Linked DNA regions of Homo sapiens: all the other regions are linked to region 2. The links are contacts of gene promoters, found by promoter capture Hi-C in human tissues and cell types (Jung and others, 2019). All regions are on one chromosome and are shown on one strand. Each heading gives the region's core, a stretch centred on a gene start or on the middle of the fragment in contact. The rest is flanking DNA. Distances are from core to core; before and after follow the strand shown.

Region 1 (3,005 bases), core at 470-2,969, 260 kb after region 2:
TAGCACCTGTCAGCTCTGTCCCGCTGCTGGACAGGGAGATACTGGGCCACTCAGCCCAGCGGGGAACGTGTGTCCCGAAACTGCCTTGGGCTCGCCATCAGAACTGTGGCAGCATCTTCCAGCGTTCCTTTTAACAGGCTGCCGTTGGAATAGGAGTCACGGAGCAATTGCAGTGCTAAGTTTTCTTTAAGTCACACAATTGAAGGAGGCTTTATTTTTCACACATTTCTTCCAGAGTTTCCTGGTAGCCTGAGTGCATGGGTGATGCCCCCTGAGTTATTTATCAGGGGCAGCCAGCTGCCCTCCCCCGGGGCACTTACAGTCAGCCCATCTCTGTCCTGGTCAGGTGGGCGCCAAGGAAGACCCGGCTCAGGGCCTCTGTATGGGCAGCCTGGCTTGTACACACACCCCTCCCCACCAGCAGATTCTGAATTCTCCCTTCTTCATGCACACCGGGAAGGTCCCTTCTGCACTCATACCGGGAAGGTAGGCAGGTTTCGGTAGTGTCTGCCTCCAGTGTTTTCCTCCTCCTGCTCTATGACATCATCTTTCTGTGATTTTTTTTTTCTTGCAGGAAGTTGGAAGCATCATCGGGAAGGTAATTATTGATTGAATCTCTGCCTCTCCTGGGGTCTCTGTAAGGGGATGGTGAGGATGGCAGCCTCCCTGGGTACTAGGTGGCACCCAGTAGGTGCGCCTTTCCCAGTTGGTGGGTGGTCTGTGTTCCATGAAGACAGGACCCCAGAGGTGTCGCCTTTATGCTGTATGACATTGAAGCTGGTCCCTGGCTCTGCGTGGCCTGAGGGGAAGGGGTTCACTCCAGCTGGTCACCTCGCTGCCCCCTGCCCGTGGCCTTGGTGGCCAGTCCTTCTTTCCCGGTTGAAGACCCCACGAAGAATGATTTCTCACGCCTTCTTCAGCCGGCTGTGTAGTCTGGGTGGTCTCCAGGAGTGCCAGTGGAGGCAGCAGCCCCCAGACAATTCCTTTCCAAATCAGGGCTGGCCCGGGGGAAGTAAGGCCCAGTTTGGAAGCCTGCTGCCCCGGGAGGCCGAGCAGTGAGGGCCACCTCCCTGTCTTCATCACATTTTCACCGCTTCCGGGGGTCCTTCCCCTCAGTCCCACCATGGGGGCGCCTCTAGTAGCTCATTGTCCCGGCTTCCTCCCAAACGCTTGAGAGGGCGCGTCTCTGAGAGTCACCACCTCCGGGAGGCTGAGCCAGAGTGTAGCCGGCAATGCGGGGCGCCTGAGGGCACGCACACTGCCATGTGCCATGAGTGAGCTGCCATGGGGAGTCAGGTCAGACCTGCGCCACCCTTGCCAGCTGTGTGCCTGTAGGTGGGTGCACTTGCATTCCTGGGCCTCAGTTTCCCATCTGAAATGTCTGCCAGGGTGTGGTGGGCATGGAGCCTGGCCTTCTTAGTGGAGAGGCTGGTTTGCTCCTCCAGCACAGGCAGGAGGCTCTGCTGTGTGGGCGTATGGGCCAGGCTGCTCCCCACCCACCATGGGCCGCGCCGTCCTCAGAGCCAGAGGGATACCTTTTCCTTATTGTCTAAATCTTTATTCCAGAAAGGAGAAACTGTGAAGAAGATGCGTGAGGAGGTGAGTGTGGTGGGTCCCCACCTGTCCGCAGCCATTCCCGGGTGGGCGGGGTGGGTCCCCAGGCTCTGCCCCTGCCGACGTCCTGCCTGTGCTCTTGGCCAGCCGGGGTGTGTGGGGAGTGCAGTGCGGGGCCTCTTTTCCCCTACTCAGGCCTCCTGTGCTCCCCTGTGGGGAAGGAATCTGTTGGATTCCTTTTGCTAGTTAAAATTTCATTGTAAAGGAGATTGTTGAGAAGCATTTTACTGTTCATTCATGGTTTCCGTCAGCGGACAGAGGCATGTGTTTGTGTCAATTGTCAACGGACTTGCGGCCCCCGACCCACTGGCCCAAGGGTTTTAATCAGGTCGCTGGGGTTTCTCTGCTCTCACCTTAGAGTGGTGCAAGGATCAACATCTCAGAGGGAAACTGCCCAGAGAGGATTGTGACCATCACAGGCCCCACAGACGCCATCTTCAAGGCCTTTGCCATGATCGCATACAAGTTTGAGGAGGTAACCTGCACCCCAGGCACCTCTGCCAGCCTGGCGGGGGCAGGCCTGGTCCCAGCTGGCTCCCTGGGTCCTCTCCCCTACACCTGGACTAGGGGATGCCCCAGCCCGCCCAGGCAACCCCATAACTACGCTCACCTCCTTTGCCTCCCAGGGCCTCTCCGCAGCTCTGGTTCACCCAGTCAGGGGCCAGTGTCTCTCCATCCTTCTGAAGCCAGCTACTCCCGGCTGTATGCCTTAGGTCCACCTCCCTCAGCTTCCCCAGACCCTGCCCTGGGGCACCGAGCACGGCCTCAGAACACCCCACCCTTCCCCTGGGGCGTGCAGCCTGGCTGACCCTTGGGCCACACCAGCACCTCCAGCCTCCAGCCAGCTCTGCCACATGGCTCTCGATGAAGCCCTGGCTGGCACAGCCCTGGTCCTCAGCCACACAGCACCATGCCTCTGGGGCCCCCGTGACAGCTGATGTAGCCTTGCTGAGATACGGACGGTAAAGGTAGAGGCCATCCGTGATAGTGGATATGAGACAGAGACAGAGAGAGAGACAGAGAGAGAGAGGAAGACAGAGAGAGACAGAGAGATGAGAGAGAGAGAGGAAGACAGAGAGAGAGAGATGAGAGAGAGAGAGACAGAAAGAGAGAGAGACAGAGACAGAGAGAGAGCGAGGGGGAGAGAGCAGCACTTCTGTGTATTCTGTCATTGAATGAAATTTTAATGTCTTTATGTGTTTCTAATTTTCTTGAAATTGCTGGAAGTTAGAGATGCATTTAGTGTCTTTGAGGAGTGACCATTAAGTAATGAGGTGCACTTTGTGGGAATAAACAAAGACCCCTCCAAGGGAGAATGGGCAGAGGCTCTTTATTATCCAAAGCTGGCCATGGTGGGGGTCGGCGCCATCTTCTGTGCTTGGCAGAGACTC
Region 2 (3,297 bases), core at 312-2,811:
GTCCCCGCGCCGGCTCCGGGGGTGCTCGGGGGGCCGCGTGGGGTCTGTGACGTCGCCTCGAGGCTGCATCCCGGTGACCCGGCAGCCCCTGGCGCTCGCGGGAGGCGGGCGGGCGCGGACCCCAGGCTTTAGGGCGCGATTCCTGCAGCTGGCTGCCGGCCCGAGGTTCTGGGGTGTCTGAGGTCTCGGGCGGGGCGAGGACGTTTCTCCGGCTCAGCCCCCCCACCTCCTGCCCTGCCGCCCCCCACACCCAGCTCCCCACGGACGCCAAGAGGCGCCTCCCACCCCGGCGAGGACCCGCGGGGAAACGGGGCCCAGGCGCGGCGACTGCGGAGGACGCGCCTCGGCCCCAGCGCCCTGGTCCTCGGGGCGTCCGGCTGCCCTTGCCCGAGGCCGGGGCGGGCGCTCAGCGCCGCGGAAGAAACGCCCGGGCGGGGACGCACAGCGAGGCGGGCTCCGCGGGAAGTACCGGGAAAACGGCGCGGAGCGGAACAGCCCGGAGCCAGCCCAGAGAAAGGGCGGCCTCCCCCTGCAGCCCCCGGGGCCCAGCAACGCCCCGCCCCAGGCCACGGCACGCGAACGCCGGGCGGGCGGAGGGGACAGGGCGGCGGGACCAGCGCGGGGCGGGCAGCGTCTGGGCACAGGCTCACGAGCCGCTCGGGGCCCCTGCCCGCCGGGCGCTGCGGCCCCAGCCTCCGGGCCGGGGCCAGGCCCACAGAGAACGGGAAGCGGGCGCTGCAGGGGGACCTTCGGGGTTGCGGCACGGCTGGGAATTCAACGGCCATTCCCGTCCCGTCGGGCCCACCCGCCCGCCCGCCAAATCCCCGCCCACCGCGGATCCGCCCCGTCCACCAAGGTCTCGCTCACCAACGGCCCGCCCCGCCCACCACAGGCCTGGCCCGCCCACGAAGGCTCGCCCCGCCCATCCACGGCCCTGCCCACCACAGGCCCGCCCCAAGCCTGGGCCCCGCCCCAGCAAGGGCACTAATCCCCTAACCCCCGAGCCCCGCCCACTGCTCTTGCCCTTCTCCCGCCCGCCCCGACTTAGGCCTCTCCCCGGCCTGGCCTCCCGTACTCAGCCCCGCCCCTGCCCCGCCCCCACCCCACCCCAAATGTGACCTGCCCCTCCCACTGCCCGTCCCCTCCCCGCTTCACTTCATTAGGCCCCCGCCCCGATTCTTGCCCCGCCCGCTCAATGTCCCGCCTACGACCCCGCCCACTACTAGTGACCGGCCCGCCCGTTCGAGGCCCCGCCTCCTCCCCGCCCAATGCTCGGCCCCGCCCCGCGCGTCATTGGGCCAGGTCCCCGCCCCGCCCCCAGCCCCACCCCCGCCCCTTTGACTGGAGTTGGCTTTTTCCAGAGAACTTTCCGGGCTCGGATTGGCCGCGCCGGTTGATGTTCCGCCCTTTCATTGGCCCGCGGCGCCCGCTTTCGCGAGCCTGCCCTTGGGCGGGGGCGGGGCCGGCGGCGGCGCGCGGCGCTAGATTGGTTAGCGGCGCAGAGGGGCGGGCCCGCGCCGCGCGCAGCGCTCGGGCTGGAGCGCCTGAAGCCGCGACCGCCGCCTCAGCCGCCTCAGCCGCGGTCGCCGCCGCTTCGGCTGACTTAGGCTCCGCCGCCGCCTCCTCACCCGCCTCGCCCCGACCCCGCCCGGGCCTCCCGGCCTCTCCCCGCCGGCCCGCGGGCTCGCCGTCCGGCGCAGGGCAGGTGAGTGAGCGGTGGCGGGCGGGGTCGGGGTCGGGCGCCCTTGCGGGTTACGGGGACCCAGTCCCCGACGGAGGCCGAGTGACGGGGCGACCCCGGGCCGCGGCAAACTTCGCCCGAGCCGGGGCGGGCGGGGGTCCCGGGCTGGGTCGCGCCGTCCCCGACCGCCGCCGGCGCCTGCGGCGGCCCGGGGCAGCGAGGGGACTCGCGCTCCCTCAAGGTGCGGTCGCCAGGCCTGGCCCGCCCGCCTCCGCCCCCTCCCCAAATTCGGAAGTTGCGGCGGGAAGCCGAGAACGTCTCGGATGTGGGTCAGAAAACGTCTGGACTACTTGAGGCTTCAGTTTCAAAACGGCACAAATTTCATCTCTTGATTGAGAAGAGATCTGGGGAACACCCCGGAGCGGCCGCGGCGGCTGGAGGGCGGCGGGGCGGGGCGCGGGGCCTCCTCCCCCTGGACGGCCGCCGGGAGAGCGCGGCCTCACCCCTCGGTGACCCTGCGGAGAGCCGCGCGCGGGCGGTGGGGCGCGCGCAGGTCTCTCTTGTTGCTCGCTGTGTTTTATTTTAATTTTGGGGGTGGTTAGAACGTGTTTCTTATTGTCCCCACACGTGTTCTAATTGGAAGTCTTGTTTCGTGAAAGAGTTTTTTTCTTTTTTTTGCCTGGTGATGTTTTCCAATTCCCTCCGCGCCACTCTGAAGTATATTACTGGCATAAGAAATTTGAAAGTTAACCAAAAGTCGGGTCCTAAATCTCGTGGCTCGGGGTTGGTTATCTTCCACCGTCCTTCAGAGCAGCCTGGATTTGCAGGTCTTGTTAGCCCTCCATGTGAGCCAGTAGCACTCTTAGTTGTTGAGTGTTTGTAGAGTGGGATTCGCCAGAAGGAATCTTGAGCAGCAGGGCCTTGCGGAGAGGCCTTTAGAGATTAGACTGGGCAACTTATAGACTCCCCCCATTTCAAAAATATTCCTCTGGCACAGGCCCTCACATATCCCTCTGAAATTGAACTCACTTTCAGGGGCAAACTGTTGCCCTTTTTCTTTTCTTTGGACTTTCTCAGATGTGGATCCCAAAGGAGTGTGCAAGGGTGCTTCCCTATTTAAGAGAACTAACTCCCAGTCCTCCTCATATTCAAGAATAATTCATCATCTTAAAGCGTGTCAGAGATACCTATTTTGGCCCCAAAAGGAGTGTTTGTAGAACAGTGGCACTCTAAAGGGATCATTTGCAAGATCTGAAAGGACCTAATTGATCATCACACGACAGAAGCAGAAATAGTTCTGGTGTTTTCAGGCTTGGAGATCTGTCAGAAAACATGGGGCCTTAAAACTAACAAGTGCAGTGACCGACTAACTGATGTCTCACTTTCGAGCAGTATTTTTTTTTTTTGCTTGTATGTAGATGCTGTTGTTTATACAGTGCAAGTTCATTACGAATGGTTTAGAACTTACGTAGCTTCACGTATTTTCTTAGTTGATAATATTATAAGGTTTTGAAAAAGTTTTGATGATAAATGGGGTCTTTATAACTGAAAAAAATGGACTCTGTCTAGAATTCAGGGCTTTTTGGCTGGCGTTGCCCCAGGTGCTGCTGATTAGT
Region 3 (3,097 bases), core at 438-2,937, 430 kb before region 2:
TTTTTGGCATGTAAGATATCCAGTTGATTTAGCACCATTTAGTGAAAGGTTCCTCATTTCTTCATGGAATTGCCTTGTGCCCTTGTCAAAAATCAGCTGGCATGTATATATACATGTGGGTCTGTTTCTGGACTCTGTTGTTTGCCTTTAATCTCTTTGTCTAAAGGCCAGTATTACATTGTCATGATTACTATAGTTTTATTATAAGTTTTGAGGTCAGGTAGAGTTAGTCTTCCAACTTTGTACTTTTTCAAAGTTGTCTTGGCTGCTTAGGTCCTTTTTGTATTTCCATAGCAATTTTATAGTCCACTCATCAGTTCTACATCCTTATTGCACTGGTTAGGACCTCCAGTACAATGTTGAGTAGAAGTGATGACAGCAGACATCCTTCTCTTACATGTCATCTTGGGGGAACACATTCAGTCTTTCACCATTAGGTATGATGTTGGCTGTAGGATTTTTTATTGCTGTTTTTTGTTTTAGAGACAAGGTCTCACTCTTTCACCCAGGCTGGAGTGCAGTAACGTGATCATAGCTCATTGTAACCTGAAACTCCTGGGCCCAAGTGATCCTCCTGTCTCAGCCTCCTGAGTAGCTGGGACTACAGGTGCATGCCACCATGCCTGGTTCATTTTTAAATTTTTTATAGAGACAATGTCTTCCTATGTTGCCCAGATTGGTCTTGAACTCCTGGCCTCAAGCAACCCGCCTGCCTCAGTCTCCCAAAGTGCTGAGATTATAGGAATGATCCACCATATCTGGCTGCTGTAGGTTTTTTACAGATGTCTTTATCAGCTCAAGACATTTTTTTTTTCTATTTATAGCTTACTCAGCGTTTTTAATCAAGAATGTATGCTGGATTTTGTCTGATGCTTTTTTTCTGCTCTTAGATGACTGTTGTCATTGCAGTGACTTAGGCCTATAGTCCCAGCTACTTGGGAACTAAGGCAGGAGGATCACTTGAGCCCTGGAGTTTGAGGCCATCCTGGGCAATGTAGTGAGACCCCATCTGAAACAACAACAACAAAAAATGAGATGAGCATTTAGTTCATTTTTCAGTTTGCTAGTGGTGACGTTAAAAAAAAATTAAACCAACTTTGCATCTTGGGATAAACGTTATATGGTTATTATGTGCTATTCTTTTTATATATTGTTGGATTCAGTTTGCTAAAATTTCATTTAGAATTTTTGTATTTATATTTGTCTGTAGGGATATTGGGCTATCATTTTAGTTTAATGTCTTTGTCAGGCATAAAATGAGTTGGGGTGCATTTCTTTCTCTTCAGTTTTCTGGAAGAGTTTGTTTGGATTTGGTATTATTTCTTTAAATATATGGTTAAATTCACCAGTGAAACCATTGGGCCTGAAGTTTGCTTTGTAAGAAAATTCTAACTACAATTTATTTTTCTATAATAGATTTAGGGCTATTCATGTTATCTGTTTTTATCTTTTTTCTTGAGTAAGCTTCAGTAATTTGTCTTTCAGGGAATTTGTCCATTTCATCTAATTTGTCTAATATATTGGCATAAAAGCATTCAGAATATTCATTTTAATATCTGTGATATCTCTAATGATATCGTCTTATCCCTTATATTGATGATTTGTATCTTCTCTTGGTTGTTTTTTTCTGATCAGTCTAGCTGGAAGTTTTTCAATTCTGTTTGTCTCTAAGTGCCAACTTTTAGGTTCAGTGATTTTTGTCTTTTGTTTTATATTTCAATAATTTTTACTCTGATTTTAATTATTTCTTTTTTTTCCGCTTACCTGGTGTTTCAATTGCCCATCTTTTTGTAGTTTTTTAAGGTGCTAGTTGAGGTCATTGTTTTAAGACCCTTTTTACTGCTTTTGTAGCATTTAAAAATTATGATATGTTTTCATTTTCACTTATATTAAAATACTTTGTCCCTTGGGTTATTTAGAAGTCTGCTATTTAGTTTCAAAATACTAGGGATTTTACAGAGATCTTTCTGTTGTTGGTTTTTTAGTTTCATTTAATGACTTCAGTCCTTTTAAATTTATTAGACTTGGTTTTATGGACCAGAATATGATCTATCTTTATAAGTGTTCCACAAAACTTGAAAGAATGTGAATCTGCCACTTTGGGGTAGAGTGATCTGTAAATGTTGATTAGGCCAAGTTGTTTGATTATACTATTTATTTTCTTTTATATTCTTACCGATCTTCTACTTGGTCTATCAGTTATTGAGAGGCAGGATTGAAAATCTCTTAGTTATAATTGTACATTATCTATTTCTTCCCCTTTTTTAGAGTTTTTACTTCCTGTATTTTGTAGCTCTGTGATTAGATGCATAAAAATGTAGGATTGTTGGTTTATCTTAATAAACCGACCTCCTTTACCATTATATGATGACCCTCTTTATTTCTGGTAATAGTGTTTGTTCTGAAATTTGTTTTGAGATTAATATAACCTCCTCAACTTTCTTTTGATTAGTGTTAGCACAGTGTATCTTCTATCCCTTTATATTAAAGTACTTTATCTTAAAAATATGTTTCTTATAGACATATATTTATATATATTTATATGTTTGGATCTTGCTTCTCTCTCCCACCATGGACAATCTCTGCCTTTTCACTGAGGTACTTAGACCATTTACATTTATTGTGATTATTGATATTATTAGGTTTAAATTTCATCTTGCTACTTATTTTCTACGTGTTTCATATGTTCTTTGTTCACTTTTTCCTCATTTTCTTACTGCTTTTGCCTTAATTGGGTGTGTTTGATGATTCCATTTTGACTCCTTCTTGACTTTTGAGCTGTAACTTTTGTTAATTTGGTGGTGGTTTTTAGGGTTTATAGTATGCATTCTTACCACGATCTCCCTTCAAGTGATATTATACTACTTCACATATAGTAAAAGAACCTTACAACAGGATACTTTCGTTTTTCCATTCCCAACCTTTGTGGTATTGTTTTCAGACACTTTTGCATGTGTTAAAAAAATCCACATCTTATTATTTTCATCTTAATAATTATCTTTTAAAGGAATTTAAATAATAAGAAAAAAACCTCTTGTATATTTATCCATGTAGCTATCATTTCCAGGGCTCTTCATTCTTTGTATAGATCTGGATT
Region 4 (3,222 bases), core at 37-2,536, 460 kb after region 2:
GCCAGTGCCACACTGTTGATGACTGCAGCTTTGTAGTAAGTTTTGAAATTAGGACATGTGAGTCCCCCAGCTTTGTTCTTATCTTTCACGATTTTTTTTTTTTTTTTTTTTTTTTTTTTGGCTATTCGAGGTCCCTTGAGATTCCATCTAAATTTTAGGATTTATTCACTATTTCTGAAAAAAAAAACAATCACTGGGATTTTTATAGGGATTACATTAAACCTCTAGATCAATTTGGGTGGTATTGACATCTTAATATAGTAAGTCTTCCAATCTATGAACATGAATGTCTTTTTTTAAATGTCCTCTTCAATTTCTTTCAGAAATGTTTTGTAGTTCTCATTGTACAGGTCTTTCACCTCCTAAGTCAATTTTTAAGTATTTTATTATTTTTGATACTATAGTAAATAGAATTGTTTTCTTAATTTCCTTTGGATTGTTCATTGTTAGTGAATAGAAATACAAGTGATTTTTATGTGTTTACTATGTATTCTGCTATTTTGCTGAATTTGTTTATTAGTTGTAACAGTTTTTGTGGAATTTTTAGGGTTTTCTACATACAAGATCATATCATCAGTGATCAGAGATAATTTACTTATTTCTTTCCAATTTGAATGCCTTTAATTTCTTTTTCTTGCCCAATTGCTCTGGCCAGAACTTCCAGTACAGTGTTAAATAGAAGTAGTGAAAGCAGGCATCCTTCCTTTATTTCTGACCTTAGAGGAAAAGCTTTCAGTCTTTCACCACTGAGTATGATGTTCACTGTGGCTTTTTCGTATAATATGGCTTTTATTATGTTAAGGTTGTTTCCTTCTATTCCTAATTTGTTGAGTGTTTTTATCATGAAAGGGTATTGAATTTTGTCATATGGTTTCTCTGCATCAACTGCAATGATCATGTGTGAGTTTTTTTTCCTCCTTCATTCTGTTAATGTGTATTACATTGATTGATTTTTTTTTTTTTGTATGTTGAACTATCCTTGCACTCCAGAAATAAATCCTACTTGGTCAATTCATTAAATTCCATTTAATTGCATCAAATTATACCAAATTTAGTTTACTATTAATAGTATTTTGTTTAGGATTTTTGCATCAATGTTCATAAGGAAGACTGGATTGTAGTTTTCTTTTCTTGCAATATCTTTGTCTGGTATTGGTATCAGAGTAATGCTGGCCTCATAAGAATGAGTTAAATAGTGTTCCCTTCTCTTCAAGTTTTTTGAAAATTTTGGGAGGGTTTGGTGTTAGTTCTTTATGTGTTTGGTAGAATTCACCAGTGCAGCCATCAGGTCCAGAGGTTGTTTGTCAGGAGATTTTTGAGTATTGATTCAATCTCCTTACTAGTTATGTCTATTCAGATTTTCTATTTCTTCATGATTTGATTTTGTCTTGATAGGTTTTGTCTGTCTGGAAATTTTTCCATTCCATCTGTGTTATTCAAATTGTTGACATATAGTTGCTTATAGTACACTCTTATAATCTTTTTTATTTCTGTAGAATTAGTAGCAATGTTGCCACTTTCACTTATAATTTTAGTAATTTGAGTTTCTTCTTTTTTTCTTAGTCTAGAATCTAGCTTAAGGCTGGTCAATTCTGTTATCTTTTCAAAGAACCAACTTTTGTTGTCATTGATTTTCTCTATTATCTGTCTGTTCTCCATTTTGTTTATCTTTGCTCTGATCTTTATTTTTTCCTTCTTTCTGCTAGCTTGTTCTTTTTCTAGTTCCTTACATTGTAAGGTTAAGCTCCTATTTGAGACCTGTCTTTTTTAATATAAGCATGTATAGCCATCAGTTTCCCCCTTAGCACTGCTTTCACTGTCGAACAAGTTTTTAAATTTGTGTTTTCATTTTCACTCATCTCTAAGTATTTTATAATTTCCCTTGTGATTTCTTCTCTGATCCTTGGTTATTTAACAGGGTGTTGTTTAATTTCGTGATTTTTTAAATGTCCTTGTTGCTGATTTTTAACTTTACTCCTTTGTGGTCTGAAAAGATATCTTGTATGATGTAGATCTTTCAAAATCTATTGACACAGACTTTGTTGTTGCAACTAACCCCGTCATTGCAAGCCCTTCTCCGTCTGGTTGAAGTGACTTCCAGGAGATTTAAAGGGCTGGCACCCTTTTCTCCCTTCATTTTTCTCTTTTTCCTCTTTTGAGACGTAGACATTGAAGACTAGCACATTCAAAAGCAACCATATATGTGGAGAAAATAAAAAAGTCATTGCACATGCTCAGGGGAAGTCACGGGCTTAGAAAAGACCTAAGAAGACCTTAAGTTTATACTTTATGCTGATCCTTAGCACAGAGACAGCAACAATCAAAATTATAAAAACAAGAAAAACCAGCAAACTCTGGGGAAGAAAGAGATTTTGATTTCACAAGGCATACAAAGAAACTTTCCTATTTCAAAGGAAAAAAAAACAACAGAAACTGTCACTGAAAAAGACTTGGTGGTAGATCTACTAGACAAAGGCTTTGAAAGAACTATCTTAAAGATACTCAAATAACTAAGGGAAAATGTGGAGAAAGTGAAAGAAAATGTAGGAACAAATGAAAATATCAATAAAAAGCTAGAAATTTTAAAAAGAAACCAAAGGGAAATTCTGGAGCTGAAAAGTACAATAACTGAAATTTAAAATTCACTAGAGAAATGCAAAGGCAGATTTCAGCAGGCAGAATAAAGAATCAGGGAACTTGAAGATACAAAAATGGAAATTATTGAGTCTGAGGAGCAGAAATAAAAAGATTGAATAAAGGTGATCAGAGCCTAAGGGGTCTGTGGGATACCATCAAGCAAACCAACATAAACATTGTAGGAGCCCCAGAAGAAGAGAGAGCAAAGGGAGCAGAGAGACTATTTGAAGAAATAATGGCTGAAAACTTCTAAAATATGATGAATGACATGAATATAACCATCCAAGAAGCCCAAAAAGCTCCAAGCAGGATGAACTCAAAGAGACCCACACTGAAACATTCTAATCAAATTGTCAAAACCCAAAGACAAAGATTTTGAAAACAGCAAGAAAGAATGATTCATCACATGTAAGGAATCCTCAATAAAACTATTAGCAGATTTCTGATCAGAAACTTTGAAGGCCACAAGGCAGTGGGCCAATATATCCAAAGTGCTAAAAGAATAAAAACTGTCTACCAAGAAGCCCACATCCAGCAAAACTGTCCTTTAAAAGTAAGGGAGAAATTAACACATTCTTAGATCAA

The links. Contacts are between HindIII fragments. The study calls those that stand out against the background at their distance.
Region 1: a contact is called between a fragment that was not itself captured here and the fragment with the promoter of PCBP3 in region 2, in 3 of the 25 tissues and cell types used here (H1 embryonic stem cells, IMR-90 fibroblasts and lymphoblastoid cells).
Region 3: a fragment that was not itself captured here is called in contact with the fragment with the promoter of PCBP3 in region 2 in 1 of the 25 tissues and cell types used here (dorsolateral prefrontal cortex).
Region 4: a fragment that was not itself captured here is called in contact with the fragment with the promoter of PCBP3 in region 2 in 1 of the 25 tissues and cell types used here (dorsolateral prefrontal cortex).

What each region holds. Positions count from the first base shown.
Region 1 is chr21:45,899,025-45,902,029 of GRCh38, forward strand. It overlaps PCBP3 (poly(rC) binding protein 3), which reads left to right. Exons shown (of 18, transcript NM_001384156.1): 7 at 575-598; 8 at 1,567-1,599; 9 at 1,973-2,089. Among named protein-coding and RNA genes, the nearest start is that of PCBP3-AS1, 64 kb to the left of the region's middle. The HindIII fragment of the contact is 8,314 bases long and covers 1-3,005 here.
Region 2 is chr21:45,642,164-45,645,460 of GRCh38, forward strand. It overlaps PCBP3 (poly(rC) binding protein 3), which reads left to right and starts at 1,562. Exons shown (of 18, transcript NM_001384156.1): 1 at 1,562-1,705. RefSeq lists silencers at 767-1,756, 2,077-2,216. The HindIII fragment of the contact is 13,348 bases long and covers 1-3,297 here.
Region 3 is chr21:45,214,584-45,217,680 of GRCh38, forward strand. All of the region lies in intron 9 of ADARB1 (adenosine deaminase RNA specific B1), which reads left to right. Among named protein-coding and RNA genes, the nearest start is that of LINC00334, 18 kb to the right of the region's middle. The HindIII fragment of the contact is 3,297 bases long and covers 40-3,097 here.
Region 4 is chr21:46,101,757-46,104,978 of GRCh38, forward strand. The region is part of intron 1 of COL6A2 (collagen type VI alpha 2 chain); the gene reads left to right. Among named protein-coding and RNA genes, the nearest start is that of COL6A2, 5.3 kb to the left of the region's middle. The HindIII fragment of the contact is 3,224 bases long and covers 1-2,898 here.